2 separate regions of the Homo sapiens genome follow, and region 1 is linked to region 2. The links are contacts of gene promoters, found by promoter capture Hi-C in blood cells and fetal thymus (Javierre and others, 2016). All regions are on one chromosome and are shown on one strand. Each heading gives the region's core, a stretch centred on a gene start or on the middle of the fragment in contact. The rest is flanking DNA. Distances are from core to core; before and after follow the strand shown. Region 1 has its middle 61 kb from the start of POU2AF1. Region 2 holds the start of FDX1 (ferredoxin 1).

The links. The method cuts DNA at HindIII sites, captures the fragments that hold promoters and counts their contacts. A CHiCAGO score of 5 or more calls a contact.
Region 1: a contact is called between a fragment that was not itself captured here and the fragment with the promoter of FDX1 in region 2, in 4 of 17 cell types (naive B cells, total B cells, total CD4 T cells and 1 more). The highest score is 12.0, in naive B cells.

Annotation. Positions count from the first base shown.
Region 1 is chr11:111,437,246-111,443,092 of GRCh38, reverse strand. It overlaps a transcript of BTG4 not described here. Among named protein-coding and RNA genes, the nearest start is that of POU2AF1, 61 kb to the right of the region's middle. RefSeq lists enhancers at 1,173-2,372, 3,209-3,795 and silencers at 3,704-3,773, 3,794-3,843. The HindIII fragment of the contact is 450 bases long and covers 2,394-2,843 here.
Region 2 is chr11:110,425,853-110,431,634 of GRCh38, reverse strand. FDX1 (ferredoxin 1) reads right to left here and starts at 1,687. Exons shown (of 4, transcript NM_004109.5): 1 at 1,330-1,687. The coding sequence starts at 1,514. RefSeq lists an enhancer at 874-1,153 and a silencer at 1,224-1,873. The HindIII fragment of the contact is 8,631 bases long and covers 1-5,782 here.

The sequences.
Region 1 (5,847 bases), core at 1,369-3,868, 1.0 Mb before region 2:
GTTGTATGAAGGGTACATGCAATCAACATGATGTATCACTGTTGGTGTTGACCTTGATCACCTGGCTGAGGTAGCGTTGGCCAGGTTTCCTCCACTGTAGAGGTTACTCTTTTTCCCTTTCCACACTATGCTCATTGGAAGAAAATCACTATGTACAGCCCACACTTAAGGAGTGGGCAGTTGCCTTATCCCTCCCCGAGGGTGGAATTAAGTTATTTGAAATTAACGTAAGTTAATCGAATGCAAGTTATTTGAGATTCTTCTGCATGTGAGATTTGTTGCTTCTTCATTTTTATTTATTCACGTGAACATTTATTTATATCAATATGGACTTATAGGTATTCATTTCATACTTTAGATTTAGATAGAGAGTTTTTTTTTTTCCCTGTCTTTCAAAATGATCCAGTGCTGGTTGTTGTGAGCTCTGCCAGTGGGCTACGGGGTCCTTTGGACATACCTCATGATTGTGGGTTGTTGTTGTTGTTGTTGTTGTTTTTCGAGTACTTCCTTATATTTTTGGCACTATAAGATGCCCCAGGCTCATCTGGTGTGTGTGTGTGTGTGTGTGTGTGTGTGTGTGTATACATTTTTTTTGAAACAATCTTACTCTGTCATGCAGGCTGGAGTGCAGTGACTCGATCTTGGCTCACTGCAACCTCCACCTCCCTGGCTCAAGTGATTCTCTTGCCTCGACCTCCTGAGTAGCTGGGACTACAGCTGTGCACCACCATGCCTGGCTAATTTTTTGTATTTTTATAGAAATGGGGTTTCACCATGTTGGCCAGGCTGGTCTCAAACTCCTGACCTCAAGTGATCCACCTGCCTCGACCTCCCAAATTGCTGGGATTACAGACGTGAGCCACCGCACCTGATCTCATCTCGTATATTTCCTGTCCCCGTCCTAGAATTGGCCATATCCCCAAGGAGTTCTGGTTCCTTTTTATTGGAGAATGTTATTAGAAACCAAAGTCTGGGTGTTAGCTATGCTCTGGTCTCTTATGTTCAACTCACTTTTCTTTCTTTTTTTGTTTTTTGAGATGGAGTCTTGCTCTGTCACCCAGGCTGGAGTACACTGGTGCGATCTCGGCTCACTGCAACCTCCTCCTCCCGGGTTCAAGTGATTCTCATGCTTCAGCCTCCTGAGTAGCTGGGATTATAGGCATGCACCACCATGCCTGGCTAATTTTTGTATTTTTAGTAGAGATGGGGTTTCACCATGTTGGCCAGACTAGTCTTGAACTCCTTACCTCAAGTGATCTGCCTGCCTCAGCCTCTCAAGGTGCTGGGATTACAGGCGTGAGCCACCATGCCCGGCCCAACTCGCTTTGCTTTTCCCTTTCTGTTAATGCTTCTGTCCCCTGCCCGTCAACCATGGGGGTTTCCCAGGATTAGTCACACATTCAAGTCAATAACAAGGAGTTCTTACCCTGTACAAGAACTTCATGAGATCAAAAGCGAGGCACAGTCACGGAGTTTATAGTCAGGCGTGGGAGAGGCATGGATATATTATAAACAGCCCAAGAGCAGACAAGGACAGAGAAGTCAATCCGTAAGGCATCTCTAAGGAACTCATGACTAATTCAGACTGTGGGATCTGGGAAGTCTCTGAGCTGAGAGTTGAAAGAAGAAGGGTGGTGTATTCTCTGTGGTCTGTTCCCAAGCCCATAAAATCTCCCTTGACTCTGGTGCTCAAGGAGCCATCTCTCTCTCGGAGGAGCCGCTGCTGATGCTCTAGTTTGCTTCTCTCTTCCTTCTCAATACTCCTTCCTTCCTGTGGGAACATGAGCAGACCCTGTTCTCTCCCCTACTCCCCAGAGCCCTGAGATATTACATTATGAGATTTTCTTTGCTAATATTTTATTTCTTAAGTTAGGTTGTGGGTACATGGGTGTTTATTATTGTATTCTTCATTCCTTTTTGTATGGCTTGCATATTTCATAATAACATTTGAAATGTATTTGTGAAAAAAAAAAAAAAGAAAAGAGAGCGGTCTCTGGCCCTGGCCTGTGTGACCTTGTGCCCTCACTCCAGGAACCAAGACTCTGCCAGATGACTGCCACTCCCAGCCTAAGCCTGGGAAAGTGCAGCTGGTCTGGGCCAGATGGGTCTGCGGGTGCCTGTCTGACCAGGTATTGCATACATGTTGATGTGACTCAGTACCTAAGTGGTGTGGCAGATAGTCACCTATCCCCTCCTCACTCTCCTTGTCCCCTCATCTCCATGACCCACCTCTGACTTCTGTAGAGTCTCAGAGCTGCAACATAGTGACAACCCTTCTCTACAGCAGGTGCTTGTTGCTGGTGCCATTCTGCAAGGGCTGGATGGGACAAGTCTGGGGCATTCCCCCTGTCTTGGGGCAGCATCTTCGCCTCAGCACTGACCTGACTCAAGCTTCCTTATCTCCCATCTAAAGCTATCTGTGAACAAAAATCTGAAAAGGGCAGATCTAGGTCTGGCAGCAACTGAGAAAAACCAAAGTTCCTGCCAACAGCCAAGGTAGGTAAGAGGCAGGCCAAACGGGGTCAAATGGGGACACCGCCCAGGGGTAGGATGTTGGTTTGAGTCTCTGGGGAAAGAATGGAAAGGATGTCAGCTCCTAGTACATGCAGGCTGGTAACTGTGATGTTCTATTTGCAAGGATAGGTTATTTAGACATTGGGACCAGGAAACTCTGTCTCTGAACTAGTTACAGGGGCTGGTGGCTTCTGAAAAGACCTCTTTAGCTGGTGTGACAGATTAAAGATGTTGCAATTTCTTTTCTTTTGAATCTGCTTGACTAATAGAATGTAGCAGAAGTGAGATTCTGGGATTTTAGAGCCTAGGTCATGTGAAGGCTTGAAGCTTCTGCAGAGTTCTTTTGGGACACTCTCTCTGGGAGCCTTGATCTGCTAGGCTGGAGAGGCCATGTGCAGGCCCTTTGCTCAACAGTCCCAGCTGAGCCAAGCCTTTTAGCCATACTCACTAAGTCACCAGCCATGAAAATGAAACCATCTTAGATCCCAGATCACAGAGTAACCCCAGCCAATGCCAACAGAGCAGACTTACCCAGCTGAGCCCTGAACAGGTTTCTGAACTACAGCACTGTGAGATAAAATAAAACAACCGTTGTCTTAGGCTGCTAAGTTTTGAGATTGTTTGCTACACAAAAACAGATAACCAAGATGGCTGGGGCACCCCTATTCAGGCCACCAGTTCAATGACCAACTTCCAATTCCCGCATCAATATGAGAGATGGAGGATCATGGCTCATTCTCAAAATGACCGGGCGGAGGAGCTGGAGCCAAAACGTAAAGTGCTGAGCATGTCTTTGAAAGGGTCTTCTAGAGGCTCTTTGCTTGGGATGGCTCTATGACTCCTATAGGTGAAGTGCTGAAGTAAATAGGAAAACTGACCTAGGAATGGCCTCCAGATGATGAGGCAAAGTGTGCAGAAACTGAGAGGGGGTGTGAGTCTGGGAGGGGAAGTACGAGGGGGCTGGACGGCATCTGGAAGAGGAAGGTCCTGAGAGACACATAGGAGGGAGCTGGGTTCTGGGAGGAGGACTTGGGGATGAATGTTTCTGTAAGGGAAGTAGAGGGCGGTGGGGGGCACCGAGAGTACAGGCAGCCTTGAGCTGGTGTCTGGCCAAGGGTTGTAGCAGTCCTTGGGCTGGTGTCTTCTCCTGCTCCATCTGCGGCTGTGCTGGGCTCTCTTTAAAGAGCCCTTCTGGGCATCCAGATGAGCTCACACAAACAGTGCAGGTGCAGGTCTGGCCCGTAAACCACAACAACTGGGGCCTGTGCTGCCACAATGCGCTGGGCAAAGCCTCCAGAGGGGGAGAAAGGGTGACTATTTGTTTAGCATCATCAGCAAGAGTTCCAGAACCCATCAAAAGCAAAGCAGAAACTTTTGTATTAAGGAGATTAAACTTTAAACTCAGCTGAGAAGGCTCTGCTGTTTGAGTGGCTTTGTTGTGCCTGGCATTGTGTGATTATATGCAAATCACCAGGAAGCCTCCCTGGGGTCCCAACCGCAGAGGCTTAGCTGCCCAGCGGGTGGGTGTGCGGGACAGGGGGCAGCCCACGTGCTAGTCAGGTAACACCCAGTACCCAGGCCGGGGCAGCCTGCTTTCCCTTAAGTTCAGGGAATTGGGGATTTGAAAATATGTTTAATGTGTTGGCCAGAGATTTCTGGTGGATGGATAGGACAGCAGGGACAGAGGTGCCACCGGGAAGGTATAAATGGAAACCTAAGACAGTGTCCAGTTAGGACGGGGGAGGTTCACATATCCAGGGACCCCCTGACCACATCACGCCTTCTTTAGCATCCTCTCTTTTGAAGCTTAGGGTAATGTATGGGGTCACCAAGGAGATGAGGAAATGTTTTGGTTTTCCTGTGGCCATTCAGAATAAGGACTTGGGAGGATTATCCTGAGTTTATTGATCCAGAAAATGTTTAATGTTTACTCTTGGCAAGGTGCAGAGCTAGGTGCTGGCGGTGGTGGGTGAGAATGGAGATGAATAAAATGTCTCTGTTGTTGAGGAGTTTACAGAGAAGATGTTTACCCAGATAACTAAAATACCTGGCAACATTTGGTAAGCGCTGGGGGAAATGGCCCATGAGAGTGCCTGGCTTTGGACAGAGGCTAACTGAAGGGGTCGAGGAAGGTTTCACAGAGAAAGAACAGAGTCAGGCCAGAGGTGGAGGCTGCATGAGCCAAGGAATTCCTGTTGAGAAGGGCAGGGTGCAGGCTGGCTGTGTGCCCTGGCTCACATGGTGTCTCAGGGGCTGTGGGGAAGACAGATTGTGCATATTGGGGCCCAAGTTCCAGGCTAGAATTTGGCCCACACAAATTGGAGTCAGATGTCTAACCCACAAAGTTAGGTCTAGGGACTCTGGGACCCCGTGTCAGCACTTGCAGAACTGCCATCAGGGTGACACCAGAGACCTCTGTGTCCCGTCTGTTGATGCCTCTGTGGCTGCCCTGGCAGCCCCCTTCCCCTCTTCCTTTAAGCAGCATCTACAACTGCTTCTCAGCCCTTAATAACAGGGTCAGCTTGGACATCTCCAAGGCTCTACTTCCTGGTGGGTGTAGAATGTTGTCTAGTATAGTCAGAGTCATAGCTGTCAGTTCCCCTCTGCTTGGGGGGCTATGGGCCTGGCTGGGGTCCTGCAGATCTGGGTTGAGGATGAGAGTGGAATGAGCTTGGTCCTTGGGCTATTAGACATGTTGAGGATAGAGATCATTAAAGATATGACCAGGGCTGAAAAGAAAACCCAGGAAGGCTGAGTAGCTAAGCTATCAACACGAGAAACTGGGCAGAGTAGCAGAAGCAAGTAAGAGACCCCAGGATGGAAACTGCAGAGTGTCGCCTAGGAGTGGAGGGAAGAGCCTGCTCCTGAGCTGCTGGGTAGTGGTGGGGATGCAATGGGGATACAGGTGGGGGTCTAGGCACTCGCTGTTGTAGCTCTAGCCTCAGGCAAGGCGGTGAGGATGCTCAGAGGCTCTCCGGCCCCTCCAGCCTTCAGTGGCTGGTTCACTGGCATTGGCCTAACCTTCTTGCAGAGGGAGCCACACCAGTCCTCAAGTTGAGCACAGCTCTTGGGCCCAGATTGGAGCATGGTGATTTGGGAATGAGAAACAATAGCTTTAGAAATTGAGAAACTCCATCCCTTTCCAGCATCCCCCTCATCCCCCAACCCAGTTCCTGGCAGGAGTCCCTGGACTCATCTGGGGTTTTTCAGGGGTGGTAAAAACTGAGGGTCATTTTTGCTGAGGAGTTCTGAGCACTGGAGGAGGAGAATGATCTCCTCCATTCCACAGATCAATACACTCCTCCCGTTTTGCAGGAAGCTTCTGGGAGCAGG
Region 2 (5,782 bases), core at 438-2,937:
CATCCATTGTATAACAGAAAGCAAGGTACCCACACTGGTCAAAGACAGGGGGGGAAGTGCAGAGGAAACAGGAACAAATAAATCTGGCTTGCCTTCTCCCTGATTTCCCCCAAAGTTCACACAACAAAAATGTATGGAGCACCCACTAGATAACGGGATTAGTGGGGAAAAGATGACTGAAAGTCTTAGACCCTGCTCTCAGAGACCTCAAAAAGAAACTAGACAAAGCAGCGTACAAATCCAACACACTCTCCCTCTAGTTCTCGATTCCTGCTACCCTACATCATGCGGTCAAAGAGCTGTCGAGAGATCTGCATTATATAAATCGCCACCATGTTGGTAAAAATTATGTGTAAATTGTATCTCTAGTATATCTAAGGAGTGTCTTTGAAAAACAAATATGCCCAAGAACCTAAAACTTCAACACATTTGGGATAAATTGTCACATTTCTTTCAATATTTAATACAAAACTCTCTTAACATTGTGAACCTAAGAAGCTGCTGCTGCTGCTGCTGCTGCTGCTGCTGCTGCTACCAAGTGGCATCTACTGAGCCCTCATTACGTGCTAGGCACAAGACTACCTGTATCGCTGTATTAACTCATTGATTCTTCAATTAACCATAGGAGGTCTACACTGTTATTATATCCAACTTGCAAATGGAGAAACTGGGTTCCTAAGGACTGACCAAGTTAGGCACGTCAGACAATCAGTGCCAAAGCCAAGTTTCAAGTCCCGGCAGATTACTTCAACGCAGGGGCTTTCAACACTTGAGCAACTAGCAAAGGGCCTACAGGGCAGCAGAGGGTATGGGCTGGGTGTATTCTACCTGGACACCCCCTGACAAAGACCTGGGACCTGGGTGTCCTCTCAAAGCAGGGCAAGGCCCTGAAAAAAACAGCTGGCAGGTGTGTCAGGCCAGGACAGCAGGAGGGAAGCCTGTCGCGAAGGTCACTGCCAGTTTCGGGCAGAGCAAAGGTCAGATCCCAGACAAATCACACGGAGAACAAGCAGCAGCAAAGTCCCGGCTTTCCTCAGGGCACGGGAAGCGCTGGGAAAGGGAGCTGGGCGTCCAGGGTCCCCGATTCCCGCCGGGAGTGGGTGATGCGGAAAGGAACTCTGCGGTGCGACGGAAGGGAGGCAGCGACGCCACCGAGCAGCGAGACGGAGCCGCGAGAGCACCCCAGAAGAGGGGGGCGAGAGGCAGGCCTCCGGGGTGTGGGCCCGGCGCGCAGAAGGCACTGGAACCAGAGACTCGGCCCAGAGAGCCAGGCGCCACCCACCGGGGACCCCGGCCCGCGCCGGCGATCGCGCCCGCACGGCGCCCTACCTGCTCCGGGCCCGCGCCGACACGCTCAGCGACCGGCTCGCCTCCGCGCTCCCGCCCGGCCCCCGGTTCCTCAGCAGGCCGCTGGATCCAGCGCGGGACCCAGCGTGGTGCAGCCACCGGCCGGCCGGGCCGCCGAGGACAGCAGAAGCGGCGCGCAGCAGCCGGGCGCCCCCAGCGGCAGCCATCGCCCGCGGTCGGGAACTGCCGGAAGCGACGCAGGCCGCGCTTTGAGGCCGCGAGAGACTCCAAAGAGGCGGGGGCGGCAGCTGCGGCGCAGACGCCCGAGGGCCGCGGCGAGGGGCGCGGGGCTGGAGTGGCGGAGAGACCCTGCTGGAAGCACCGCGCCGAGGTTCCGCGTGCCTTCCGGGTGACCTATAAAGACATTGGCAAGCAGAGCGCGGCCCCGCCCCGCCTCTCACGCCCACGCCGCCCGGTCCCATGGGGCGGGGCCAGCGCAGGGGGCCTTTACCAACCCTCCAGGTTCCGTTGTAAGCTGGATGCTTTTTTAGCGGCTGAAGTTGCCGTGCAGAAACAAAATATTTTGAAAGATAGCTGGACGTCTAGCGGAAATCGGTTAGCTAGACCACTGTGTTCTGTTCCGCATACCCCCATCCCCTAGCCGTTAAAAAAAAAACTGGGAAATTGTGTCATCTTGGAGTCAAGTTAGAGCAAAGTGAATTCTGCCCACTGTAAAACAAAAACAGTGGGAAATTTTGGAAAATCTCAGAATGCTATTATACAAAGAAATAATTATGACTATAAAATTGTAAATGAAATTAATGAATAGGCTTGGGGCTCCTGCAGAGGACAGGTAGCCATCCTAGACCTTGACTGGCAAGTAAATGCTGGCTGAGTACATGAAACCCACGAGACTGAACCGGAAACTTTGTGATGAGCTGAGATCTCTAAAAGACTTTCACAAAAAACAGAAAAGATGAACTTTAAAATACACCTTATCATGGTTCATATGTTGTGGGAAATGCATGGGCTTTAAGGTCAGAAATAGCAATGTTCAGATCCAAGATCTACTGCTTTAGAGATCTGAGACCTTGGAAAAATTATTCTCATGGAGGATCAGAGTTTCCATAACTCTCAAACACAGATAAGATGTTCCAGCCTTCAGGGCCATTCTGATGTTAATCTAATACGCAATGCACACCGTGCGTCACAAACCAGGAAGGCTACCGCTTCCTGGGCCTTCCTCCATCAGGGTACTCATAAAGAGGCTAAAGGCCAAAGTCAAGGGGATATTGCAGATATGCTAAACACAATCAGATACTTTTTTTTTCTTTTTTTGACATGGGGTCTCTCTATTCTGCCCAGGCTGTAGTGCAGTGGCGAAATCTCGGCTCACTGCAACCTCCGCCTCCCAGGTTCAAGTGATTCTCCTGCCTCAGCCTCCCGAGTAGCTAGGACTACAGGCGTGTGCCACCACACGCCACTAATTTTTGAAGATTCAGAACAAGAAAGTGTAAGCATGAGTAAAGTATCTGCGGACAATGTATGGTGCTTTCTGGAACCCAATGGCAGAGAGAAGGCAGTGGCTCCTAATTGCCTCAAATCGTTGGATGAAGAGAAAGTCTTTCAAGCTGCGAAGGGCACAGCAAACCCTGACAAGTAATCTTGAAGAGGAGGTTGTAAAAGAACAGCTAACTTTTGTTTTTAGTAAGACCAAACTTCCAAGGTCGGATGAATTAGTTGTAGGAAGAGAATTGAAAAGAAAAAAAATCGTAGATGTTCTGTCTTCTCTCAGCCCTCCTGTAGCAAATACAGTTTCAACTCCCTTAAGGCACTTGATAGCTTTCTGCTTTGTAGGGTAGTTATTCGTACACATAGAGTAGTTATTTATATAGTTCATCTTAGTGACTCCGACAGCACCAGCTACAGGGTCTTGAACATATCAAGGGTCTAATAAATATTGGTGAATAAATTGATGTTATGAAATTTCCATTAATAATCATCAGAATTCATTAAGCATGTATATGAAGATTAAAGATAGAAAAAATGTTCTCCAGGTTTTCTAAGGTGGATGAGAAGTAATGCCAAAAATTGCAAATATCAGTAGTCAGCAGAATTCCAGAATGGATTTGTAAACATGATCATGAATACAGATAAAGCAACATGGAATTACTGAGGACGTGCTTTTGCTTATCTGTTTGCTTATGTATTTCTTTGTCTATAAAACTCCCACCCCTCCATCCCTTTTTTTTTCTTTTTTTCCTTAGAGATGGGGTTTTGCCATGTTGCCCAGGCTAGTCTGGAACTCCTGAGCTCAAGCAATCTGCCCACCTCAGCCTTCCAAAGTGCCGGGACTACAGGCATGAGCCACCATGCCCAGCCCATCTTTTACTCCTTTCAAAATCCATTCATTGTTTGAAGACTTTTGTCTTATTCTGTTTATGATGCTATAACAGAATAACACACAGACTGGGTAATGTGTAAAGAACAGGAATTTATTTTCTCACAGTTCTGGATACTGGGTCGCCCAGGTGCCAACTGGTTTAATGTCTGATAGAGAGGCCCAGTCTCTGCTTCCAAGATGGTGTCCTGTTGCTGTGTCCTCACATGCTGCAAGAAGGGCAAACATGCCAATTTCCTCCAACCCTTTTATAAAGGTGTCAATCGAGAAAAATGATGAGACAATTCTCAATCATTTTAGGAGATTGATTTGCCAAAGTTAAGGATGCACGCCCAGGAGACAGTTCTATGCCTTTCTCTGAAGATGATTTTGAAGGCTCCAAATTTAAAGGGGAAAAGGTGGGATATTGAGAAGTACATAATTTTCATGTATGGCGGGATAAGGAAAAATAGTCATTCATACCCTTGTCTAGCTCAGTGCATCTGCTTTTTTTTATATATAAGATGACAGAGACAAATGGAGCAGAGGAAAAATGCAGGAAATCTACATTTTTACGTAAGATAGCATAGGCAAAATGGGGCAGGGGAACAATGAGATATTCATTTGTGTTTGGTGGGCAGCAGGGTGACTGCATCTGTAAAGATAATCTATCCATTTACATTGCCATGGTGAAATTTTAACAGAAATACCTTAAAAGATCTTGCAGCTCACTAGGAATTTCTTTGTGGGCAAAATATGGAGGAGACATGTAGCTTTTCATCTTGTAGCCATCTTATTTACAAACCAAAAGGGGGACGCAGATTTGCATGACCCAGTTCCTAGCTTAACTTTTCCCTTTGGCTTAATGAGTTTGGGGTCTCAAGATTTAATTTCCTTTCACATTTTCCCTTCTTTTTCTTTAAAATCTTTTGGAGAAAGCATTTTAGAAGGAATACAGCTTTCTGGCCTAGGGTTGTTTTTTCTTCCTTTTCTTTTGAGCTGGTTTCTCCTCACTAGGTTGGTTAACTCCTAGAAGTTCAGGTCCCACGTTGCTATGAAGGCTCATTCCTAAGACATTATGTCCCATGAAGATAAAAAAAAATGGGAAAAAAGAAGGAAAAGAAAAAAAAATACACACACACACACATATATATGTATATATATATGGACCTAGGCCAGATGTATAGCAACAAATAGGAAGCAAACCTGGAAGGTGGGTCAGGTTATATTACTGCCTCCTCAATTAGAGCAATTCCCTGGGCAATCATTACCCTAGCCCTTTCAGTTGTGTGTGGACTTATTTGCAAGCACATACCTTAACAACACTGTAAGCAGAAACAGGACAGAACAGAAATTATTATTATTATTATTATTCCTATTATAAGCAACAGCTTCTGCCACCAACTTCCCCAGGATGCAAACCAATCACTCAACCAATTGATTAGTGAGGGTTTTGGATCTGACAGGTTGGTTTTCCGGGGTTTCATATCAGTCATAAGTCAGGTTATGTTCTTCGATTCATGTGGAATATACACACAGCATTCAGCTTTTATGATGGTGCAGGCCCCCCGCTGTGCTGCTGTGAGTATATCTGAGGCCATATGGTTTTGCAACACAGCTTTCCTCAAAAGCATGACCTCATTATTTAGCAACGGGATACTCATCTGGCTATCATTTAGGGCCTTTTTGGTGTAATTCATTAAGGCCTCTATAGGCCATATAATGTCTTCAATACTTAGCTTCAATCTTCAAGTGATCATGCCCCTGGAATACTGAACGTGTCCAGTGAGATCGTAAATGAAAAAGGCTTGCTGGTTTTGGCAGGGTCTGAATTATTCACCCCTGTTCTCAAGCGTAACCTGGGGAACATTTTCCTAATCACCCTGGAGGTGACCACAGCCGTAAGTTAGTACCACACAGCCAATATGTCCCATTTGGAGCTAGCCAATAAATACCTAGTTGCTACAACCAATCGGTGGCATGCCAGTCAATGTCTTGTAATATGATAATGTGGTCACAGCATTCTCCCAGTATCCACCCCATATTTCTCATACTTTCTGGCCATAAATCCTTGGTGTGGTTTCTTTGCTCCCAGCATTTTGGCTGAGTTGGCCA